Linked DNA regions of Homo sapiens: region 2 is linked to region 1. The links are contacts of gene promoters, found by promoter capture Hi-C in blood cells and fetal thymus (Javierre and others, 2016). All regions are on one chromosome and are shown on one strand. Each heading gives the region's core, a stretch centred on a gene start or on the middle of the fragment in contact. The rest is flanking DNA. Distances are from core to core; before and after follow the strand shown. Region 1 holds the start of WNT9A (Wnt family member 9A). Region 2 overlaps SNAP47 (synaptosome associated protein 47).

The links. Contacts are between HindIII fragments. The CHiCAGO score rates a contact against its expected background, and 5 or more counts as called.
Region 2: a contact is called between a fragment that was not itself captured here and the fragment with the promoter of WNT9A in region 1, in 3 of 17 cell types (total CD8 T cells, naive CD4 T cells and M1 macrophages). The highest score is 6.6, in total CD8 T cells.

What each region holds. Positions count from the first base shown.
Region 1 is chr1:227,946,028-227,950,453 of GRCh38, forward strand. WNT9A (Wnt family member 9A) reads right to left here and starts at 1,905. Exons shown (of 4, transcript NM_003395.4): 1 at 1,766-1,905. The coding sequence starts at 1,860. It overlaps LOC124904533 (a long non-coding RNA gene), which reads left to right. Exons shown (of 2, transcript XR_007066912.1): 1 at 1-400; 2 at 675-1,276. RefSeq lists silencers at 727-836, 1,940-2,019 and an enhancer at 1,810-1,859. The HindIII fragment of the contact is 8,120 bases long and covers 1-2,416 here.
Region 2 is chr1:227,759,041-227,763,466 of GRCh38, forward strand. SNAP47 (synaptosome associated protein 47) reads left to right here. Exons shown (of 5, transcript NM_053052.4): 3 at 1-445. Among named protein-coding and RNA genes, the nearest start is that of SNAP47, 26 kb to the left of the region's middle. RefSeq lists enhancers at 2,428-3,178, 3,362-3,511, 3,832-3,921. The HindIII fragment of the contact is 5,154 bases long and covers 2-4,426 here.

The sequences.
Region 1 (4,426 bases), core at 655-3,154:
CTACATGGAGAGCTGCCCTCAGACAGGACTCAGGAATTCTCCCTTGATGGGTCCTTTGGAGCCAAGAAGCAGGGCCAAGGGGGCCTGGCCAGAGAAGCCACAACAGCACTTAAGTCCTTGCTATGCGCCTGGCACCAGCCTGGACTTACTGTCTGCAAGAGAGCTGAAACACACGCACACAAAGCAGCAGAGCCCCTTGACCTTCTCTAGGGCACAAAGCCCAGAGATAGGTCAGAGAAGGAGAGGCCAAGACCCAGCGCCACCCCGTCTCCAGGAATCGGATCACAGCAGGGACAAAGCCGCTGCAGCCTGGACAAGCCCAGGGTGTGTCCCCAGCCCAAGAAGCAGAGCCTCCGCTGGGCCGGAGAGCAGGGAAGCACAGCTGGCTGACAAGGCCACGGTGAGTCACCGCGGACCTGTGGCCCTCCCTCCTGCCCTCCCGGGTGAGGCTACGGGTTGCACAGATGGCGTGCAGTGGCGTGCCAGCCCAGGCCCAGGGCCGTACCCACAGTTGGAGCCAGGAGAGGGCTGCGGGTGGGGGCCCCAGGGAACTGAGACACCGGGCTGACCCTGGAAGACGACCCAGAAGAAAGGAACAGAGAGAAGAAAGGGAGAGAAAGAAAAACACAAAGGGAAAGTTTCCCATGAAAATATTTTATTTTCTTTGAGAACAGGATACACCTGCAGGGCTCCTCGGCCCAGGCGGCCTCTCCCTGCCCGGGCGGGTGCCAGATTCCTGGACCAACGGGGCCCTCTGCCGGCCAGCCCGCCGCGCGCTGGCGCTCAGGCCAGAGGGCCGGGAACAGGTGACCGGCGGAGGGCGGCGGCCCGGCTGAGGGAGCGGCCCAGGGCGTCCAGGTCGGGGGCTGGGATCCGAAGGCCAGCCAGGGCTCCCAGCGGCGGCGCTCGGGGTAGGAGGCTGGAGGGTGGCGGGGAGGCCCGGGGCGCTGCCTCGCACGGCGCCACCCTGCACCTCAGCGCGCCCAAAGCGCAGCGAGGGTCCCTGTAAAGGTCGCAGGACTGGGCATCCCAGACCTCAGAGAGGGGGAGGGAAGAAGGAAGGGAAAGAAAGGAAGAGAGAGACGCGCCGACAGCCCGGCAAAGCGCTGCTGCAGAGACACGTGAGCACGGGCAATGACACCGCGGGACGCCCCGGCCGGGCCCTGCGCTCCCGGCCAGGTTCCATGGACGCGCTCCCGCGGGCCGGGGCCCGGGCCACAGAGTCAGAAGCAAAGCGCAAGAAAAATAAATTCCTCCAGCTTGGAGGATTTCTCTCTTTCTCTCTCTCTCTCCGTTTGGGGCTCAGCGCGAGGAACATCTGGATTTTGTACGTATTTTTGTTATTGTTAAATTAACTTCTCGAGAAGAGAAAGGGGGGGAAGCTGCTAGGTGGGCGATGGCCAGGGGCTGAGGACTCAGGCTCCAGCCTTTTGGCAAGGACACGGCGGCCCAAGGAAGTCGGGACCTGATCCCAGTCCCTAAGCGCGAGGCAGTCCTGCTCACGGCGGCGACTACGACGACGACGACTCTGCGGTCACGGAGGACCGCGGCCCGGCGCAAGCCGGACGGGTCCACCCGCCTCTCTAGCCGTGCCGCGCAGCGGACGGAGCGACGCGCGCGCCGCAAACAAACAGCGCCAGGCAACCCGGCGGCCCCGCCGCGCCCCGGCCCCAGCCACCCCGGGTGCCTCGGGGACTCCGGACGACCCCGCCCCGGCCCCGCCGCCCCCGCCCACCAGTGCGCGCCGGCCGCCGAAGGCACCTACCCGAAGTAGGCGGCCGAAGGGCGCAGCGCGGCGAGCAGCAGCGTCAGCCCGAAGGCCGCGGCCAGCCAGCGCGCCAGCGGGGACCCATCCAGCATCTTGCCGCGCCTCGGCGGCCGACCATCGCGCTCCCAGCTCCGCGCAGGGCGCGCCGCGGCCGCCGCCCTCTTATAGCGCCCGGAGCGCGGCCAGCTGGGCCCGGCCCCGCCCCGCGCCCGGGAGGGGATCACGCCGGCGCCGGGGGCGGGCCGAAACCCGAGCCGCGCGCGCCAGCCCGCCAGCCCCTCCCGGCCACTCGGGGCCCCGGCCGCCGCTCCCGGCGCGGGTCTCGGGCGCGCCCTGCCCGGCGGGGATGGAGGAAGGGGAGGCGGAGAGCGGTGGGAACCGAGGGCGGGGCGTGCGAGAACCCGGGGCGACCACGGCGGGACGGCATTGGGGGGCCGGAGGCGGGCATCGGGAAGCGGGTAGAGCGTTGGGGGCGCTGCAGTGGGAGCTTGGGGCGGCCCCCGGGGCGGGATTGAGGGGGAGGGGAGGGGAGGCGTTGGCCGCCGGGCTAGCCGCCGGCGGGGCTCCAGGCCGGGACGGTCGGGGATGGTTCCACAGAGGACCCAGCCGTCTGCCCCGAGCTGGGCGCTGCGCGGCTGCTCCGGGGGAAGCTTGGTGAGGAGGAGTCGGGCCAGCCGGTGATGCCTGCGCCTCTTGCGCATGCTGACCCCCTCAAGGAGCGGGGCCAGAGAATCGCTCCTTTCTGGCAGGGACTGTGGCCGCTTTCGGCCTGGGAATGAAGCGACGTAGCCTGCTGGGGCTGTGAGGTGAGTAGCTCTACCTTTTGGGGTCCTGATGGTCTCCCCATTCTTAAATTGTGGGAGTGGAGCTAGCGGCTAAGTCAATGAAACACCAGCCATCGGGCAACGCCCTTCTCAGAGCCTGTGTCCTGGCCGGGACGGGGAGAAAGAGGACTCCTGGGATGGAAGGTGCACACCCAGGCAGCTGGAAGCGCTCAGTCACAGCCCGGGGACTCGTCCCCTCTGCGATACGGATTCGGAGCTGCTTCTGAAGCAGAATGGTGTCAGAGGACCCAGAGCTGGCATTAGGATACAGGTGCACACATTCCAGACAGACCTGGGGGTGGCATCCAGGAGAAGGCTTATAAGTTCCCTGGATGGGGCCTCTGTGCCATGCAACAAGGGACACAAGAACAGGGCTTGGGGTCCAGGCTGGCGGTGGCATGCCTGCCACCTGCAGACCCTGGTCAGTGCAGGATGGTGCCTCCAACACGGGCTAGGCTGCCAAGGCTGAGGACACAGGGCCAGCGAGCCTGCCCAGCCACGTGCTGCAGGGGCCTCAGAGACCTGGGCTGCGGTGCCAGGTCTCTAGGCAGTGCCCTCTGTGCCTGCAGGGACTGATTCTGGCACAGTGACCGCAGAACCTGGGGGGCGGAGCACATGCCCCCGGAAGGCTGTGAAATCCCGCCAGTGGCAGTGACAGAGGCGAATATGAGGGTCCTCAGAGGAAAAACAAAGAAGATAGGAGCAGCAGAAAATGGCCCCCACGAGGATCTGAGCCAACCTCGCCACCCCTAGGGCTCCCGGCCCTGCTTCCCTGGGAAAGCCTGGCCATGTGGGTCACCCCTGTGAGCATACCCTTTCTGAGTGTCTGATGGCCAGTTTGCCAGGTGAGCTTCAGGTGCATGTGGGGCAAAGCAAGGGTGGGGAAGGGAGGAGACCGGGCCTGAGCAGTCACTCCCTCTCGGGGCCTCGGTTTCCCCATCTGAGACCCATCCAACTCCAGCGAGTGGTGGCTTTTCTCCAAGGCATGATGTCCTGTGTGGGAGCCCTGGCCCCTGGTTCTGCTTTTCCACTAGGTGTGACTGGTCTCACATCCTTCCCCATCCATAGGACCCCCCTCCTGTGGGGAGAGGGCACTTGTTTGTCCTCTTTTGCTCAGGGGGCTGGGCCACCTCCCTTGAAATGGGGCTGACTCAGCAGAGGGAGTGCAGACGGCAGCCCAGCCCACCCAGGCTGCAGCGACCCCAGTGGGAGGCCCACCCGCCCCACGGCCATGGGCTCCAGTGAGCCCCCAAAGTCTGGCTCCAGCACCAGGAAGTGAGAGGCAGCAGAGGGAAGCAGACAGGACGGGAGACCCTCCCCACCCCCCACACACCCCCCTGCAATGATGGCATGCTTAAAGGCATGGAGGCTGCCTCCAAGAAGACGTGTGAGATTGTAAATGTGCATCACAAGCGCCTCCGGCATCACAGAGCTCCCTTCCACTGGGGGTGAAGCACTCTCCCAGCAGCAGCTTAGTGGTCCCCAAGGAAGGAGGCAGCTGCCTGGCCGGCTGAGGGGCAGGGGGCTCTAGTCCCAGTCCTGGACTCTCAGGACCACATTTGGTGCAAGAGGGTGCTGAGAAGGATGATCCGACATCCATGAACTCGGGAAGGACCCTGCTGTTTCGCCAGAGAAGGGAGGCCATCAGCTCATGGCAGCTTTTGGTGGTGGTGGGAGTGGCAGGCCAGCCCTGAGTGGCCCCACCAGACCCCCACTTGAAGCCCTGGCCCAGCTCCAGCCAGGAGCCTATCAGAATGCCCAGGAGCCCAGGGCATGTGGTTGGTAGGACCCAGTGCCCCAGGCAGGGTAATATCAGAGATACACCTGAGGTCTG
Region 2 (4,426 bases), core at 1,329-3,828, 190 kb before region 1:
AAGCTTTGGAAGACACCACCGGAAACAAAGCCCAGGGAAGATGTCTCCATGACCAGTTGTGAACCCTTTGGGAAAGAAGGGATACTGATAAAAATTCCTGCTGTTATTTCCCACAGAACAGAGTCTCACGTTAAACCAGGGAGGCTCACCGTCCTTGTGTCTGGGTTGGAAATACATGACTCCAGTTCTTTGCTCATGCACAGGTTTGAAAGAGAAGACGTGGACGACATCAAGGTCCACTCACCTTACGAAATTAGCATCCGCCAGCGGTTTATTGGAAAGCCAGACATGGCCTATCGTTTGATATCTGCCAAGATGCCAGAGGTTATCCCCATTTTAGAAGTGCAGTTCAGCAAGAAGATGGAGCTGTTAGAAGATGCATTGGTGCTCAGAAGCGCAAGAACCTCTTCCCCCGCAGAGAAGAGCTGCTCAGTCTGGCATGCAGGTTAGTGACCGACAAGGCAGTGAGCGCGTGCACAGACTTCTAAAATTACAGGCAGACTCAGCACGCCTGTGGGAAATGCCTAACAGATGCGTCACCTAGAGCAGCTGCTGGCCTCCAGCTTGCTAGAGACAGCTCGTTTGTTTATACATAAAAACAATTCCAGACCATTTTCCTTGTACTTGACATCTGTGAATCTGAAATCACTGAGAGTTAACTGTACACTTGATAGGTGCGTGAATTCCAAAGCGGTTGGTACCATGCTTTGGATACAGTTTATCCTCACCAAAGCTCATGTGGAAATTTGGTCGCCAGTGTGGCAGGGCTGGGAGGTGTTTGGTCACAAGGACTCTGCCCTCTGGGTGGCTCAGTGATGTTCTCATGGTAGTGAGTGAGTGCTCCCTCTGGGAAGCCTGGATGAATTCTGGGAATGCATTAGTTCCCAAGAGTGGGTTGTTAGGAGGCAGGATGCCCCTCTGATTCTGTCTCTTTGCCTGTGTCCGCTTCCCCCTTGAGTGTCTCTGCCACAACACGAGAGCCCTTGGTGGAAGCCAGGGCATGCCCTTGGACTTCCCAGCCCACAGAACTGTCAGTTGACTAAAGGTCTGTTCTTCGTAAATTACCCAGTCTCAGGTGCTCAGTTATGGTGATGCAGAACCTGCTACGACACAGAAAGGGCTTTCAGAATGAGTGCATCAGAGCAAAAGGAAGCTCCTGCTGTTGTCTCTGTCATCTCCCCTCATTTTGATGTGGGAACCAGCACCTCAGGATTGTTACTGGCACCATCTCCACTTCCCCTGGTGGGGCCATTCCCATCACCCCTACTTTGCCCACTCTTGTTTCCCTGGGCATTTAATCTAGGTTTTCCTAGCCTGGCGCCCAAACATGCTATTAGGGATCTGTGTGTTGGAGAACTGTGCAGCGTGGTTCTGTGTGTTTGTGGCATTCTCAGATGTGTGTGGAGTGGCCATGGTACCTTCCCGCAGACTCCATTGTAGATTGTGAATGCTCAGCTGGCCTGTCCTGGGGGCCGGGCTGAGGGGCAGACACCCTGGGTCTTGGCACGTCCACCACGTTTGGCCTACCTCCTCCCTAGCACAGGACCGAGGCTTATGTGCTAGGAGCCGCCATGGTCCTGCCCGTCTGATGGGAGGCTGGTGGCCTCTTGGTGTTATTCTTGCCTTTACCCTTTCCTTGGTTAGGAGGTGGGGCCTCTGATGCGTTGTATTTGTTTTGGCCCTGCAGGTTTTGCTCTATGGATGGCCTGTTCTGTTTTCTTCTTTCCTCATGTGCTTTCTTCCCCCACAGATGTGCACGACTTTCCTACTATCCTAGTCCATCAGCCTTGGCTGGCTTTAGAGGCTATAGCCACTTCCTCTAGAGTCTCTTCCTCCCTTACAGAAATCTTTTATCTTGCCATGGTAAAATCCACCGATTTTCCCCTGCAGTTTGTCTTCGAGCTCTGATTAAGAAATCTGAATGTCATAAAAGACTCCATTTTCTAATATTAGCATTATAGCTAATACGCATGCATGTATACATATGTACACATGTGTATCAATGCCTATGTATTGTGCATGTATGTGACATGTACGTCCACACTATAATGCGTGTCTATACGTACAGCATGTAAAGCTGTATTCTTCAGGATTTTAAATGCCAGGTGTCTGTTAAAAGTAAGAGATATTTGCTACCCTTTCGGTTTCTCTAATTTTTCTCTTAAGAGAAAGATTTCAGTTCCTATAACCTGTTTCTCTAACATGAAAATGTTTTGCTTGCTATTCCAGATGGCTTCAAGTTTCGGAAAGAAATACACATAATAATAGATTGAGTCCCATGAGCCCCAGGGCTGAATACACACCCTAAAAATGAAAGGTGCACACCTTAGATATGCAGCACGTAGTTGAATCACAGAAAACCTACCACCTTTCTGTATATGTCTTAAAGTCAGGGGTTGCAAAGAGAGGCATTGACCCCTATGGAATGGAGCATGTGGTGTGAAATGTAATGAAATCCATTGATCAAGATGAGATCAAAGGTCACCATGAGCTGCTGTCACTAAAGTGCAGGCCTGAACCCGAGTGTCCTAGTGGGAGACAGGCTACAGAAGCATAGGAAGCAGAGGTCTTCACCCACATTCAAGGTAAATGGTACAGGCGTACTCCTGCACGTGGCTTCAGGGAGGAGGTATGTGACGTGCTGTGGACTGGTGGTGTGGGGACTGAAGAGGGGTCCCTGGGTATGTGTGGCGTCAGGCAGGAAGTTTGTGACATTCTGTGGAGTTCAGGACTGCTCTCCAGGGTCCCAGTAGAGAAGCACTCAGTGTGTTTAGTGGCCCTGCCATGTTGCCGACCTGGCTGCACCGTGGTGGCGAGCACTCCTGTGTTCCGCAGGCTGGTGTTTGTAAGTGGGTTCCTGCAATCTGTGCCGTTTGAGGTCAGAGGGCTATCACCTTTTCTGGGGGCCTCAACGTGCATTCAGGATTCAGGACTGATGGCGTCACCCTCCCTGCTCGGCTAGGAGGGCCCCCTTAGTTCAGGTCACCTGAGTGTGGGTTGTAGCCACAGCGAGCACCGTCTTTTCACTTGCACAGCTGCACCCGGCCCGTGGTGTTTTGAGTACCTGGGGCAGCCATCTTGCCATGTGGCACACACAGCACACAGTCCCACAGGGACCTGCTGCATGTGTGAGATGGACTGTTGCTCCTGTGGGGGACTGTTGTGCCACCTTTCCGTGCTCACTTTCACCCCCATGGGCAACCTGGCCTGTCCAGGTAAGTGCTGGTCTCATGGGGGCAGCTGTGCCTCCAGAGGGTGTTCTTGAAGAGGCTCCATGCAGGGGTTGGAGCGTGTGGTGCCCTGCCTGGTGCTATGTTAGCAAGAAGGCGGCGCCCCGTTTGATGGGAGCTCAGTAGTCTGTGGGGCACTTGTGGCTCTGAGGCCTTGCCTCTGCCTGCCGCCTGCTGCTGTTGTCCATGCGTAGGCACAGGGACTCTGTGCCAGCTTCCCTGTGTTTACTGCTCTCAGCTGGAAACTGTGGGCTCCCTGGAGGTGGAAACCATGACGGATGTCTCAGAAATCCCTGCCTCTGGGACGAGCGCTGGTGCACGTGTGGCCACAGGGTGGCAGCCTCGCGACACCGGATGGGCGCTTGTCAGGGAGGGACACCCGGGGCGGGGAGCCTTTCCAGAGACCTCTGCAGGGCTGCGTGCCAAGTGCACGTTTTATTTTATTCTAGACACTCGTCCTTGCGTTGAGGAGCACCCAGGACCGCACAATCACCCTCCTCACATGTCTCTGGGCCCTGTGGCTTCTGACAGCCTTCTGGAGGCTGGGCCAGGGCTTGCACAGCAGCCTCTGTCTCAGATTTTCTTGCAGTCGGCCTGGGCTGTGGTTTGGGAGGAAGGCCACAGGGTGAGGTTTCCTTCCCACACATCCTACCAAGGGACATGCACAGTATTTTCTTTTTCTTTTTATTTATTTTTTTCTTTTAGAGACAGGGCCTTGCCCTGTCATCCAGGCTGGAGTGCAGAGGTGCAATCATAGCTCACTGTAACTTCAATCTCCTGGGCCCAAGACATCCTCCTGCCTTGGCCTCTCAAGTAGCTGGGACTATAGGCACATATCACCATGCCCAGCTAATTTTTTTTTTTTTTAATTATGGGGTCTTGCCGTGTTGCCTAGGCTGGTCTTGAACTCCTGGGCTCAAGTGATCCTCTCACCTCAGCCTCCCAGAGTGCTGGGATTTCAGGCGTGAGCCTCTACCCTGCTGTGCACAGCGTATTTGAAGGCTGTTTGATCACTGAGATTTTTCTTTGTCACTCACTGCCTGTCTTGGGGGTAAGGCCTGCCTGGGCTTCCAGCTCCCTGATGACAGCCTTGCCTGTACCTCTGCTTCCCCGGGCCGTGTGTCTGTCTGCACAGCAGCACCAGCAGCAGGACAGGGCAGGAGGCAGGCGGATGCAGTGGGCAGTTAGTAAAGGAC